5 separate regions of the Homo sapiens genome follow, and regions 1, 2, 4 and 5 are each linked to region 3. Evidence: promoter capture Hi-C in 16 types of primary human blood cells and fetal thymus (Javierre and others, 2016). All regions are on one chromosome and are shown on one strand. The core of a region is centred on a gene start or on the middle of the fragment in contact, and the rest is flanking DNA. Distances in the headings are between cores, read along the strand shown.

Evidence for each region. The method cuts DNA at HindIII sites, captures the fragments that hold promoters and counts their contacts. A CHiCAGO score of 5 or more calls a contact.
Region 1: the fragment with the promoter of APOA2 here is called in contact with the fragment with the promoter of IGSF8 in region 3 in 5 of 17 cell types (total B cells, naive B cells, non-activated CD4 T cells and 2 more); the score reaches 6.7 in total B cells.
Region 2: a contact is called between a fragment that was not itself captured here and the fragment with the promoter of IGSF8 in region 3, in 3 of 17 cell types (non-activated CD4 T cells, fetal thymus and total CD4 T cells). The highest score is 6.1, in non-activated CD4 T cells.
Region 4: a contact is called between a fragment that was not itself captured here and the fragment with the promoter of IGSF8 in region 3, in 1 of 17 cell types (neutrophils). The highest score is 6.1, in neutrophils.
Region 5: the fragment with the promoter of PPOX here is called in contact with the fragment with the promoter of IGSF8 in region 3 in 1 of 17 cell types (fetal thymus); the score reaches 6.1 in fetal thymus.

Annotation. Positions count from the first base shown.
Region 1 is chr1:161,222,378-161,225,077 of GRCh38, forward strand. It overlaps APOA2 (apolipoprotein A2), which reads right to left and starts at 1,251. Exons shown (of 4, transcript NM_001643.2): 1 at 1,218-1,251; 2 at 973-1,048; 3 at 541-673; 4 at 1-145. The coding sequence starts at 1,024. The coding sequence ends at 28. The HindIII fragment of the contact is 2,953 bases long and covers 1-2,161 here.
Region 2 is chr1:161,392,788-161,395,487 of GRCh38, forward strand. No RefSeq gene overlaps it. Among named protein-coding and RNA genes, the nearest start is that of TRV-CAC1-1, 5.6 kb to the right of the region's middle. The HindIII fragment of the contact is 1,933 bases long and covers 365-2,297 here.
Region 3 is chr1:160,097,301-160,100,000 of GRCh38, forward strand. IGSF8 (immunoglobulin superfamily member 8) reads right to left here and starts at 1,319. Exons shown (of 7, transcript NM_052868.6): 1 at 1,109-1,319. The coding sequence starts at 1,172. RefSeq lists an enhancer at 1-507 and a silencer at 1,074-1,903. The HindIII fragment of the contact is 5,064 bases long and covers 1-2,700 here.
Region 4 is chr1:159,089,092-159,091,791 of GRCh38, forward strand. It overlaps a transcript of AIM2 not described here. Among named protein-coding and RNA genes, the nearest start is that of AIM2, 14 kb to the left of the region's middle. The HindIII fragment of the contact is 1,495 bases long and covers 695-2,189 here.
Region 5 is chr1:161,165,137-161,167,836 of GRCh38, forward strand. PPOX (protoporphyrinogen oxidase) reads left to right here and starts at 1,290. Exons shown (of 13, transcript NM_001122764.3): 1 at 1,290-1,536; 2 at 1,704-1,798; 3 at 1,964-2,098; 4 at 2,235-2,350. The coding sequence starts at 1,712. It overlaps USP21 (ubiquitin specific peptidase 21), which reads left to right. Exons shown (of 14, transcript NM_001014443.3): 13 at 1-7; 14 at 221-587. The coding sequence ends at 311. RefSeq lists an enhancer at 2,345-2,700. The HindIII fragment of the contact is 28,112 bases long and covers 1,041-2,700 here.

The sequences.
Region 1 (2,700 bases), core at 1-2,500, 1.1 Mb after region 3:
GGGTTGGAAGACAATGGTCTGGACACTTCACTGGGTGGCAGGCTGTGTTCCAAGTTCCACGAAATAGCTCAAGAAGTTAACCAGTTCCGTTCCAGCCTTCTTGATCAGGGGTGTCAGCTGCTCCTTTGACTTTTCAAAGTAAGACCTGGATAGGTGAGGGGATTAGAGTTTAATCTGAGGGACCCTAGGCACTGGCAGGGGCCTTGGTGGTGGTGGGAGGTCAGAGCAGACTGACTCAGGTCCCCAAACTCTAGTGCCTGGTCCATCGCATGGCAAAGCCCCTAGGTAGGAATAGAGTCAAGACCTTTGCTAGGTAGAGGGACAGACTCTAGAGACTGAAATTCAAGGCCCAGTTCTTGCTGTTCCTCTCTATCTAAGAGACGTGTGGGATCTTTGGGTGATGAAATACTTTTTCTCTGCAATTTAAGCCTAATCTGCCCTAATCCCCACCCCTGGGTTCAGACTTCTGTGGGACCTCTCATCTTCCCTTCTTTCTCTCCACAGTTCCACAGCCCCTGAACCCCTTGCCCTGAGACTTACTTGGCCTCGGCCTGAAGCTCTGGGCTCTTGACCTTCTCCATCAGGTCCTTGCCATAGTCAGTCACGGTCTGGAAGTACTGAGAAACCAGGCTCTCCACACATGGCTCCTTTGCCTGTCTCCGAACCAAAGCTCCTGCCCACACACACACACACACACACACACACACACACACACACTCTTTTCAGCTGGGTCCACAGCAGTGAATCCTGGCCTCCTGCCATACCTCTGCCAGTACCCACCCCAGCTCTCTGCCCCCTCCCCAAAAAGGTATCCAGCCAGATCTTTGGATGGGCTTTCTGGGCTTTAGAGAGGGAATGATCTTCCTTTTGAGCCCTTTGGTTGCCAGACCTGGATATAAGAGCACAGGCAGATAGGTAGCTATAACCACCAGCACATTCTCCCTTTTGGCCCCCTCTCCATATCACACCCACCTTCAAGGCTGCAGATGGTGAGGAGTAGCACAGTTGCTGCGAGCAGCTTCATGTTGGTAACAGTGGGGAGGGCGGCCTAGGAAGAGGGTGGTGGGGGTTTGGGGGACACTGAAGCCAAATGGGCTTCAGCTCCTCCCCAGGGATCTCCCTACCTGCTGCCCATTCCAACCTGGCTCTCTCCCTCTCCACAACTGAAGCCCAGGCCTCTTTGGATGCTGCTCACACATCTTGCCTCCTTATCTTACCTAGCCAGCGTCTCTGTCCTTGGTGTCTGTGCCTGCCCTGGCTGGAGAGGAAGGGGCTATATACCTGTCTGTTTACCCACCCCCTGTCAGGTGACAGGGACTATGGATGGGCCCAGTGGGGCAGGGATTATGTGAGGATAAACAAGTTGGAGAAATGGGGGAGGAGAGGACAAGCACATGGAAGACTCATGGTGATGGGGTGAGAGGCAGGGGGTACAGCTCTTAGTGGAGGCTAAGGGGGTACACTTCAGGTATATTTGAGGTTCATTCTTTTGAGATCTGAGGTCCTTGGACTTGAGTGCAACAGGAAGCAGGATTCCAAGTTATTTCTCTGGAAAGCTCTGACATATCAACCCATGGAATACCATCAACCCATCATACCATGGAAAGCTCATGGTGTCTTTATTCCATTATGGGTAGATCTCATCTCTCAACCTTATCCCACTTTACTGCAACTTGGCAGAGAGATATTGGGGAGCAGAAGAAAGGAGAAAGGAATTGAAATCAGGGACAGGGTTGAGGGCTATGGGGGTTAGGGGAATGAGGGTCGGGTAAGAGGGCAAGTGTAAATGATCTTGTCCGTTTTTGAGTTAATGTGTAATGAGACGGGGAGAAAACAGGAGAGCCCAGAATGACCTGGATGCTGATCACTGAACATACCCTACCCCCAGTAAAACAAATTCAGAAAACAGCTTCCGCCCGTCCCCTCCCAATGGAGGGCTCTGGCAGGAAAAGAGGTGAATAAGAGGCTTCTACCAGGGTAAAGGTTGAAGGCACCTGGTCATTTGATCACCTTATCAGTTCTAGGCAGTGATTAGCCAATATTGAGTCAGCAGGGGCAATAGCCCTGGCCCTTGTCTCACTCCTGTTGGGGGTGGGGGAGGGGGAGAGGTACATTCCCAGGTTCAAAGCATTTGGGTGAAATCAGTTAAATAGATATCAGAAGCTTTTGTATCTTTCACCCTTTTGCCCCCCAAGCATACTCGCTGAGTATGTGGAACATTCCTGAGGGTGACAGTGGAGGCGCAAAGCTGATGAGGGAGGTAGTGACCAGAGACCAAGAAATCTTTGTTTTTTAACTTTTGTTTTAAATTCAGAAGTATATGTGCAGGTTTTTTTGTTTGTTTTCCTGAGACGGAGTTTTGCTCTTGTTGCTCAGGCTGGAGCGTAATGGCATGATCTCGGCTCACTGCAACCTCCACCTCCCGGGTTCAAGGATTCTCCTGCCTCAGCATCCCAAGTAGCTGGGATTACAGACATGCGCCACCACGCCCGGGTAATTTTGTACTTTTAGTAGAGACGGGGTTTCCCCATGTTGGTCAGGCTGGTCTTGAACTCCCGACCTCAGGTGATCTGCCCGCCTCGGCCTCCCAAAGTGCTAGGATTACAGGCATCAGCCACCGCCCCTGGCCTATATATGCAAGTTTGTTACACACGTAAACTTGTGTCATGGGGATTTGTTGTACAGATTATTTCATCACCC
Region 2 (2,700 bases), core at 81-2,580, 1.3 Mb after region 3:
AGAACAGAGGAGAAAGCAGGGCCACCACGGGAACTGTAGTTATTCCTTTCTTGCTGCTCTTTGGCTGTAGTTTCCCTCTCCCATACCATCAAGAAGCCCCAGTGAAACCACATGTACCACATTTATATTTCTTGCTCTGAGATCCATTCCCTGCCCTAACTCTCCCTGTTGTACTTGCAGGGAAATGCATTTCCCCAGGATCCCATCATGCAAAGTGAAAGCCAAAATCCTTGCTGTGTTCCACAAGACCCTTCACCTCCTCCTAGCTTACTCTGATCTGGCTACACTGGTTTTTGCTGTTTCTGGGACACAACAGCTTGCTGCTGCCACAGAACCTTTGCACTTTGTAGCCCCTCAGCCTGGAAGCTTGTCCTCTAGATAGTCTACATGGCTAGTTCCCTCACTTCCTTTAGGTCTTAACACAAAAGTTACTTCTCAGGGGGCCTGCCTTGGCCACACTATCTAAAATTCCACATACAAAGACACCCAGATATTTCATCTTCTGTTTCCCTCTTTATTTCTCTTTAGCACTTGTCACATCTGACATACTAAATAAAAACTGTTTCCTCTGCCCACACACTTTTGACATCAAATGTGTGGGTTTTCCACACCAAGCAATTCTCCAGTTCTCAATGGTCACCAATTGTGTGTCCTCCCATCTAACTCAAGTCTGGCACTAATTACCTGGAATTAATGAAGTTCCCACAGGTTAAGGACTCAGGCTCACAAGACTGCTCCTAACTTCAGATGTCAATCACAAGTTCCAGATTCTCATCTGTACTTCTCACCAATTGGCTATCAACTGGGGCTTTCCCAACACCCTCCTCTTGTTTGATAATTTGCCATAATGGCTCACAAACTCAGGGAGACATTTACTTACATTTACCGGTTTATTATAAAGAATATGACAAGGCCGGGCGCAGTGGCTCATGCTTGTAATCCCAGCACTTTGGGAGGCTGAGGTGGGTGGATCACCTGAGAGGTCAGGAGTTCAAGACCAGCCTGGCCAACATGATGAAACTCCATCTCTACTAAAAATACAAAAATTGGCTGGGTGTAGTGGCAGGCGCTGTAATCCCAGCTACTGGGGAGGCTGAGAGAATCGCCTGAACTGAGGAGGTGGAGGTTGCAGTGAGCTGAAATCGTGCCACTGCACTCCAGCCTGGAAAACGAGTGAGACTCTGTCTGCAATAATAATAATAAAAAAATAAAGAATATGACAAAGTTTACAGATGGACAGCCAAATGGAAGATGCACCGAGGGCAAGTATGGGTGAGGGCTTGGAGCATCCATGCTCTATTTAGGCTTGCCATCTTCCCAGCACCACAGTGTGTTCACTAAGCCAGAAACTCTTGGAACCCTGTTGTTTAGGGTTTGAACATAGGTTCCATTACTTAGACAGAATTGATGAAATCATTGACCATTGGAGTCAATCTCCAGCCCCTTTCTCCTCCCCAGAGGTTGGCGATGGAGCTGAAAGTTCCAGCCCTCTGATCATCTGGTTGGTTTCTCTGGAAACTGGCCCCCATCTTCTAGGAATCACCTCATTAGTATAAACTCAGGTGTGCTTGGAAGGGGCTTACTATGGATAACAAAAGACACTCCTCTCACCCCTATTACTCAGGAAATTACAAGTGTTTTAGATCTGTGTTAGGAACTAAGGACAAAGACCAAATGTATACTTCTTCACAATATCACACAAACCATATATTTTATCTTATTATCTGCCTCACAAACTAGGATGTAAACTCTATGAAGACAGGGATTTGTTTTTTGTTTGAGACAGGGTGTCACTCTGTTGCCCAGGCTGGAGTGCAGTGGCACTGAAACGGCCTTGTTATCTGGAGTAACATCCGAGGTTCGTTGTCTCACAGCCACCAAGAATAAGGATGCAGACACACAAAGAGTGAGGTTGAGAGTGGAAGTTTAATAGACGAAAGAAAGAGAATAGCTCTCTGCTGCAGAAAGGGGTCCTGGAAAAATGGGTTGCCAGACCCGTGGTGAAATTCAGGGGGTTTTTAGATGAGCTGGTGGGAGGCAGAGTCTGATCTACATAGCATGCAAAAAACTGGTCTGACCAGGTGTGCTATTTGTATACTATGGGAATCTCTGGCCTCCTCCACCCCAATCTTTGATTATGCAGGCAGGTTCACTGCCTGAGCTGCACCATGTTGCCCATTTCTTTATTACTGTACATGTGGTAACAAAAAAAGGGAAGATGGAGCCTCCATGGTGGACATGCCTGGCCCCCAGTTACCCCTTTTCTATTGGCACAGCTGCCAGCATTCCCCCATGCAAGCTTCCAGCTTGCTTACCTATGTTTGCAGCTCAATTTTTCAGGCTGCTCTTTCTTAGAAATGATTTTGGGGGCTGCTTTTTTGTTAGCAAAGAAATTCTACTGAGGACTCTTCTGCCCTCACTATCTCCTAAATAATTTCTATCTCCTGTATCAGCACGATCATGGCTCACTGAAACTTCTGCCTCCAGGCTCAAGCAATCCTCCCAACTCAGCCTCCCAAGTAGCTAGGACCACAGGTATGAGCCACCACATCTGGATAATTTTTCTGTTTTTGGTAGAGCCTGGGTTTTGCCATGTTGCCCAGGCTAGTCTTGAACTCCTGGGCTCAAGTGATCAGACCGCCTGGGCTCAAGCCATCCTCTTGCCTCAGCCTCCCAAAGTGCTAGAATTACAGGAATAAA
Region 3 (2,700 bases), core at 69-2,568:
CCAGGCCCCACAGCGCCTTCCTCTCTGTACATCCTCCTGCCACCTGCCCAGGGACCAGGGAGAGGACTCATCCTAACCCTGCAGGGCCCAGGGACCTGCAGCAGGGGAAGGCTTTGCTTGGTGCCACTGTGGAGCTCTGGTCTAGAAACAGGCAGCTGGGGCTACCTTCAGCCTCTGCCTTGACGACAGCAGCTCTGAAGTCACCATCCCCACCCCCACGCTTCACTCTCATTTCAAGGGCTTCAGCCTCATCAACATCTGTACTGGCAGTTTCACTGTCTCCATGCCATACTCTTCCCCAGACCACCTCCTACAGGGAGCCCTCCAGTTCAGGCCAAAAACAATTCCACTGTCATTATCCCCATGCATCCATGCAAGATTGGCCCAGAACACCCCACCATGAACACCCACCACAGCAGGCACAAGGTGCTTGGAGATCCCAGGATCAGTCTCCATGGAACCTGGTTTCTCCTGAGGCAAGGAAGCTGGAACTAAGCGGTGTGAAAACTGATGGGTGGCTGCAGAGCCAAGTGCCATTTGGGAGACAGGAAGAAGGGCAAAGAGGGACCCAACCCAGGGTGGAGATGGGGGTGAGAGAGGGAACTGCCCCCAGTTGATGAAGTGCGTGGAGCGCAACTGGGAGAGACTTACTTCAAAGATCGTGGGCAGAACTGGCCTCTGGGCCTCCAGCCAACTCTGGGGCAATTATGAAGCTGGGCAGGCACTGCCCTCGTAGGGCGGGCACCCAAGGCCAGGCCTGGAGCTGAGTGTGGGGCAGAAAGGAGTCGCAGCATTTGGTGCAGCGACCCCAGTACGTGGGTATGCTAGCTGAGATGTGTGGCCTGCCCCGGGAGGCCGAGCAGTGCCTGGGGCAGCACCTTAGTGGGTCCTCTCTACGCCCCAGTCCCTGGCTTAGAGCTGGGGAGCCTGCACTCTTCCCAAGACTGGCTCGGCGGACAGCCACAAAGCGCAGCTGGACGCCGACCCCGGGGAGGCTGGAGGTACCCCTGACGGAGGAGGATGTGAGGAGCCCCGAAATGCTAGGGGGGTGCTGGATGGCAGGCACCTGCCCGGCAGGGCCGGGAACCGGAACGGGGGCCTGGCTTACCTAGCATTAGCAGCAGCAGCAGCGGCAGCGAAGGCGGCAGCAGCGTGGGCCTGAGGGCGCCCATCCTGCGCGGCCAGCTCTGGGGAGGCTCCGGGGGATGGCGCGGGTTCTGGGGGGCCGGAAGGGTGGGGGGCGCATGCCCAGGTTGAGGGCAGGAAGCGGGGCAGCGAGGCGTGGGTGCGCCGAGCGAGCTGAACTGGAGCTGCCGAATCCCCTCCCTCCGCCCCTCCCGCTGCTTTCCCTCCAGCCCTCGGCAGTTCTGAAACCATTCTCGCCCCGGCCCGCCCCGGCACCGCCCCTTCCACCGCCCCGTCTAGGCCCGCCCCGCCCCGGACCCAGCCTTGGCCCTGCCTGCCCCACCCCCGCCAGACTCCGGCCTTTGCTCCGCACCTGGCCCCGGCCCCGCCCCGCCCCTCGAAACTCACCTTTGAGTCGCATCGAGTCCCAGCCCCGCCCCGGCCCCGCCCCTCCCCGCCCCGCCCCGCCAAGACTCCAGCCCTGGATCCGCCCCGGGCCTCGGCCCAGCCCCAGTTCCGGCCCCTCCCCCGCCCCGCCCCACCAGGACTACAGTCGGACTCCAATCCTGGCTCCTCCCCGGGCCCCGGCCCCGCCCCAGTCCCAAGCCGCACCCCTTCCCCGTCCCCGCAGGGCTAACGTCAGCCTCCAATCCTGGCTCCGCCCTGGACCCCGGCCTCGCCCCGCCCCTGGCCCTGGCTCCGCCCGAGGCCCCCGCAGGAGTGAGCTAACTGCACCTCTGCGCATCGAAATTCCCACCCACCCTCGCACAGAGCGCATTCCACCCCGCACCTGCCAGCCTTTCCTGGAGAGTTGGGTGCAGGGTCCCTGGGATTGGCGAGGTGACTGTGACCACGCATTTAGAATTCAGTTATTTGCTCTGAGCCATAGTCCTCGCTGCAAACCCTGCTGAAGTAGGGGTTGGCGGAAGCCAGGAGTTCCTGAATGCGAAGGGTTTGAGCTGAAGGGCGCTTCCAGGATCCAGAAGGTCACTGGAGACCTGTTTTTCACCCCCTCAGAGGGCAAAACCAAAAGAAAAATGGATTAGGAGAGGGGGCCGTCCATGTGACGTCATTTCTGGGTTGGGTGATCCTAGCCCAGTTGTTTAACCTCCTTCAACTTCAGTTTTCTCCTCTGCAAATTGAATTGAGGTTGATCACATCACCCAAAGGGTTATTGTGATGATAGGTAATGTACATAAAGTGTTTGGCACAGGAAACTAACACAAAATGGGAGATAAGGATTATTTTGTTTTAGGTTTTGAATTATTATTTGAACTGCTTCCTAAGAGGCTTAGTTTAGACCTGGCATTTAGGTGAAGGAGTCTCTATGTTCAGTGACAGTGGGAAGAGATGAACATTGCTCTGTTCTAGGAAGAGTGGGGCTTGCCCTGGAGGTGGGAGAATGGAGGAGGCACCCTTCCCAGGTGCTCTGTCTCTTCCTGAACTGTAAAGATGGGAAGTGGGCAGGGGCAGGAAGGATGAGACCAGAATGGGGAGAAGAGATGGCCAGGTTTGCAAAGCCAAGGCTGTCAGAGTGGCTGTCAGTGGGAGGTGACCCCAGAGCCCATTTACCAC
Region 4 (2,700 bases), core at 192-2,691, 1.0 Mb before region 3:
GAAAACTTGGTTAAGGACTGTCATTTGTATGAGATGGAAAAAGAGACCATTTCTGGCAAGTGAGACGAGCTGTGAGCTTCTGACCTAGGTGCTTATAAGCATTATTTCAATTTAATATTCCTAACAATCCTGCAAAGTGAGTACCGTCATTATTCTTATTTTATAGATGAGAAAATAGAGGCTTAGCGGTGTTTGTGAATGGACTAAGGTCATACAATTAGTGAATGGTAGAAATAAGATTTGAACTTCATCTGGTGTAGCCAAAGCACATCCTCCTAAGCACTAAAAAACACTGCCTCCTGGTGGCAAGATGAAGAAGTTCAACTCCATAACCAAAAGGATAAAAACCAAGGTAGATCAGGATAGAAGCACAGAAGGTAGACATAAAGCATGTCACTTGCTTAAAGAAGCCCCTGTGTTGGATTGTTTGTTCAACCCCCTTACCTACAGGCTCCCCTGCTTAGTTTCACTATCTGGTTCTCCCTTAAGAAGTTTCTTTCCTAGTTTCACTCCTTTACTCTCAGGATAGCTGAATGCAAAACCAAACAAACAAACACAGGATCACTCTGCTTAGTTCTTTAAATTATGTACCAGTCAAAACAAAAATGGCCACTCAAAACATGTACCCTGAGTCCCAGAATCACACAATCATAAGAATATACACATGGTTTCCTACGACGAAGTTATTCTTCTAAGCTTTCCATAAATCACTGCTCTTTCATCTCTGCCCTACCTATTCTATCGGTTTTTAGTTCAGTAACTATTTGTTTTCAGTAACTGGACCCTAGACCCTTCAACCAGACAACCAAAGTGCCTATTTTCCCAGCTGCTAGAAGTGTTACAGCTGACACCTGAGTCTGTGTTCCAGGACTGCCCTATGCTGAAGGGAACTGCCTTCCCCAAGGTTGCATCCTTCCATGGAGAAAGCCTGAAGCCAAGGATTTAGGGTCTATGAGGAGGTTCAAGGTCACAGCCTTCTTGCCTCACTTAGGCATAACTAGAGGCCATCCCAGCTCTAGGGTTCCCAGGGGGATTGGCTGCAGCCCTCACTGCAATTTAACTTCTCCCTCCGCCCAACCCAGTTTCCCTCTCTCCTTTATAGGTGTTCCCAAGAGCACCCTCTAATAAACTTCTTGCAGGCAAATCTAACAGTCTGTTTCTTGGGGACCCAACATAAGACAACATTCAACTCTTAACTTCAGTCATATTCACAAATACTGTCACTTTAAATAAAGTGCAGGAATGCAGTGTAAAGATACATACACCAGAAAAAGATGTGACTATAAAGTGCAAAAATATACCAGAATGTAAAAATAATACATGAATTTAAAGTCCATGAATCAGTCTCTCTCGCATACTGCTAGAAAGCGTGTGACTGCTTCACATTTCATAATTTTGTCATTGTAATTGTCATCACGCCACTAAAATTCCATGCCTTTCAATTTTTGTTTTTGTTTCTATCTCTAAATAAAAATGTTTATTTAAATGCCTTCTATGGACACTTCAGACCAAGTCCAAAACTTTACCTTAAGGTGAAAACTCTTACTATTTTTCCTACAAGGTTGTGTTTGGGAGGTTATTCATTTGTCTTTTATTTTTTACCATGAGCTGTTTGTCTAGTCTCCTGACATGGTAACTGGAGACACAGATCCCTCTGTCAGAGTCAGCATCAAACATGTGTAAGGCATGTTTTGACTCTAGCAAACCATCAGGGAAATAATTTTTGATCGTTCTTTGAGTTAAAATTGTCTTTTACATTGATGCTAAAGACTTTCCCTAAGCAACCTCTACCACATTAGCATAAAGTGTCTGAGTTTCAAAGATTCCACCTCAAATGGCTCCCTTGTGTTCAGCACCATCACTCCCTCCTGGTATTCTTCTTCCTGAGTAACTTCCTATTGACCTCCTTTCCCTTTCAGTCTCTTGCTGAAATGGAAACATCAGAATGAAGGGGCAGGCTGTATGTGGGAAAGATGAATCACCATTAAATGAGAAACCTCAATCCTAATGCTAGTCTTGTAGAAATTGGCTTGTATGGTCCTGAGAATGGTAAAAATAATTAATACAAATAACTTTAAACATTACTTAATAAAGTAACAAATAATACAGCTAGAAAAGAGAATGATAGGATAAAGGTTACATTTTTTATATTTAGCCATTCTTGGTCTTATAAGTGTAGAAGACAGAAAAGCTTGTGTCCAATCCTATTAATACCTTAAAGCCATGTGTGGCATTACAACCACTGAAAAAATGCTGGGTAGAGTCAGTCCACAATGACATGCTTGTCACGACGTGCTTTGGCAGGTTCTGCCTTTCCCTTTACTTATTCTAGGCTGGGTCCCTTTTGACTACTGTCAGCAGTGAAGAGGAGGAGAAACTCCTCTGATTTCTGAAGATTCACAAGTTACAAGACTATCTTATATGCTTGAGGATGGCCAGCATGTAACTGGTGACAATGAACAAAATTATATACTTACAAAGTGCAATCGTTACATTATCCTGATCATCTCTTGTGTTGACAGCAATCTGTAGGATGGGATGAATCAAGGCAGCCAGCTGAAGTCCTGCCCTCTGGATGCCCTTGGGGGAAGGTATTTGGAGAGTAACTTAGGGGGTGATGTATAAAGGATGTGGTAACAAATGTTATGAGTGTGTGTGTGTTCACTGACACACCAGCAATTGCCAAAGCAAAAATGGTGG
Region 5 (2,700 bases), core at 40-2,539, 1.1 Mb after region 3:
ACTCTCGGTGAGAATAGCCTCCTATTTACATCCTGCCCCATTCCCACTCAGCCCTGACACCCTCCCCTTCTATGAAGCTCCAGGAGAGCAGAGTGCCAGGTGAAAGGAGAGGTGGAGGTCTTGCCTGATCATTTCCTGGATGCTCTGAGGTTCGGTCTTGTAGGGAGAAGGGAGTAAACAGGAATGACCACAACCCTTTCCCGATCTCCTTTTTTCCTAGTGTCTCCCCTGTCAGTGAAAACCAGGTGGCATCCAGCGAGGGCTACGTGCTGTTCTACCAACTGATGCAGGAGCCACCCCGGTGCCTGTGACACCTCTAAGCTCTGGCACCTGTGAAGCCCTTTAAACACCCTTAAGCCCCAGGCTCCCCGTTTACCTCAGAGACGTCTATTTTTGTGTCTTTTTAATCGGGGAGGGGGGAGGGGGTGGTTGTAGCTCCATTATTTTTTTTATTAAAAAATACCCTTCCACCTGGAGGCTCCCTTGTCTCCCAGCCCCATGTACAAAGCTCACCAAGCCCCTGCCCATGTACAGCCCCCAGACCCTCTGCAATATCACTTTTTGTGAATAAATTTATTAAGAAAAAATGATGTGCTTATTTGTATTTTTGCTTAGGGGGTGATAGAGAACTGAGCCAAATTGGAGTCTTCTTGGGACCCAAGTTCCCTCTCTAACAGGTGGGGGCGCTCTCAGAGCCGAGGGGGAAGGTTTCGGGGATGGTGCTGGACCCGGACCTGTGTCCCCCAGCAGTGAAGGTTATGTACTGGGAGGAAAAGAGGAAAGGCATACTTGAGTGAGGCTGCGTGCAGGCTCTGGGGCGACTGGTTTGGTCGGCGATGGGGGAGTGCCACTGTTGACAAACACTGGGTACGTTGCCGGGCGGCCCTAGCTCCCGTAGGCCCGGTCTGTTGCTAACATCAAGGAGCTGTTTATGGAGCCGCCTCCCCGTGGACTGGCCTTAAGTGTCCCTATCTATTCTCCCTACGACCAAAGCTCCTGCGGCCTTCCCTCTAGGGTTGTCACCCTAGCTGGACCTGGTAAGCTTGTGCTGGGGAACGCTAACTCCAGCATTAAGCGCTCGCCGCCTCGGTCCTGAGGAGGGCAGTGACGGGTACGGCCGCTCACTCCCAGCTCGGCGCTAACACGGTTAACCTCCAGCTCTTACAGCTGCCGTCGCTCCGCCTCTGCCAGTTCAATGTTTTATTGGTGAACGTGATCCGGGGCCTTCCAAGTCCCGCCAATCCAGATGTAGGAGAGGTAGGGTTAGGCGCGTGCCGCGAGAACAGAGTGGACGGAGCGTAGGAGAGACCGAAAAGGCTGGGGGTGGGAGTAGCGGATTTGAAGCACTTGTTGGCCTACAGAGGTGTGGCAAGCAGAGCACCTCAGAACTCAGGCGTACTGCCCGCCGCCCGAGCCCTGCGAGGGCCGATAGCGAGGGTGTGGCCCTTATCTGCACCCAGCAGAGCGCCGGCGGGGTACGGTCTTAGGACCTCGATCTCCTTCTCCCTCATTTTCTCTCATCCCTACCTATTGTGGGTGAGTCCTGGCCCCTGGACGGGGACCTCGCTGTTCCACCAGCCCATCCGTGCACACTTAGTTTCCCCTAAAGCAGTGAGTGGCCGGGATAGAACTCAAAACCGGCGGGGCTTCTGGAGCGCAGGTTGTCCCCGGTCTGCCTGTCCATATCGCCCCCTTTCCCCCAGGTTTCCGCATGGGCCGGACCGTGGTCGTGCTGGGCGGAGGCATCAGCGGCTTGGCCGCCAGTTACCACCTGAGCCGGGCCCCCTGCCCCCCTAAGGTGAGTGCTCCACTTGTGCCAGAGGGAGCTTCATTTAATGCTCTTCCCATTTCCATCAAAAGCTAGATGGATCCTGGCCCTCTGAATATGCCTCTTCCCCTCCCCTCCTGACCTCTCGCCGGCGGCTACAGGCGGTGCTGCAGTGTCTCTCCCTCTTGTCGCCAGGTGGTCCTAGTGGAGAGCAGTGAGCGTCTGGGAGGCTGGATTCGCTCCGTTCGAGGCCCTAATGGTGCTATCTTTGAGCTTGGACCTCGGGGAATTAGGCCAGCGGGAGCCCTAGGGGCCCGGACCTTGCTCCTGGTGAGAGGCTTGTGGGATGTCTAGGAGAGGTTGTGGAGGGGGCTTCCATTGGGGAATAGAGTTTAGGGGAGGAAGTATGTTTGGTGGGTCAGATCTTCCCTTAGTTTCTCCTCTTCTGAGGGCATGTGGAGAGCAGGTTTCTGAGCTTGGCTTGGATTCAGAAGTGCTGCCTGTCCGGGGAGACCACCCAGCTGCCCAGAACAGGTTCCTCTACGTGGGCGGTGCCCTGCATGCCCTACCCACTGGCCTCAGGTAACACCAGCACCTCCGCTCCTTTTACTGTGCCCTCATCCTCATATGCCTTCCATTTCTTTCTTCTTTTCTTTTTTTTTTTTTTTTTTTTTTTTTTTGAGACGGAGTATCGCTCTCGCCCAGGATGGAGTGCAATGGCGCGATCTTGGCTCACTGCAACTTCCGCCTTTCGGGTTCAAGCGATTCTCCTGCCTCAGCCTCCCGAGTAGCTGGGACTACAGGTGCCTACCACCACGTCTGGCTAGTTTTTGTATTTTTAGTAGAGATGGGGTTTCACCATATTGGCCAGGCTGGTCTTGAACTCCTGACCTTGTGATCCGCCCGCCTCGGCCTGCCAAAGTGCTGGGATT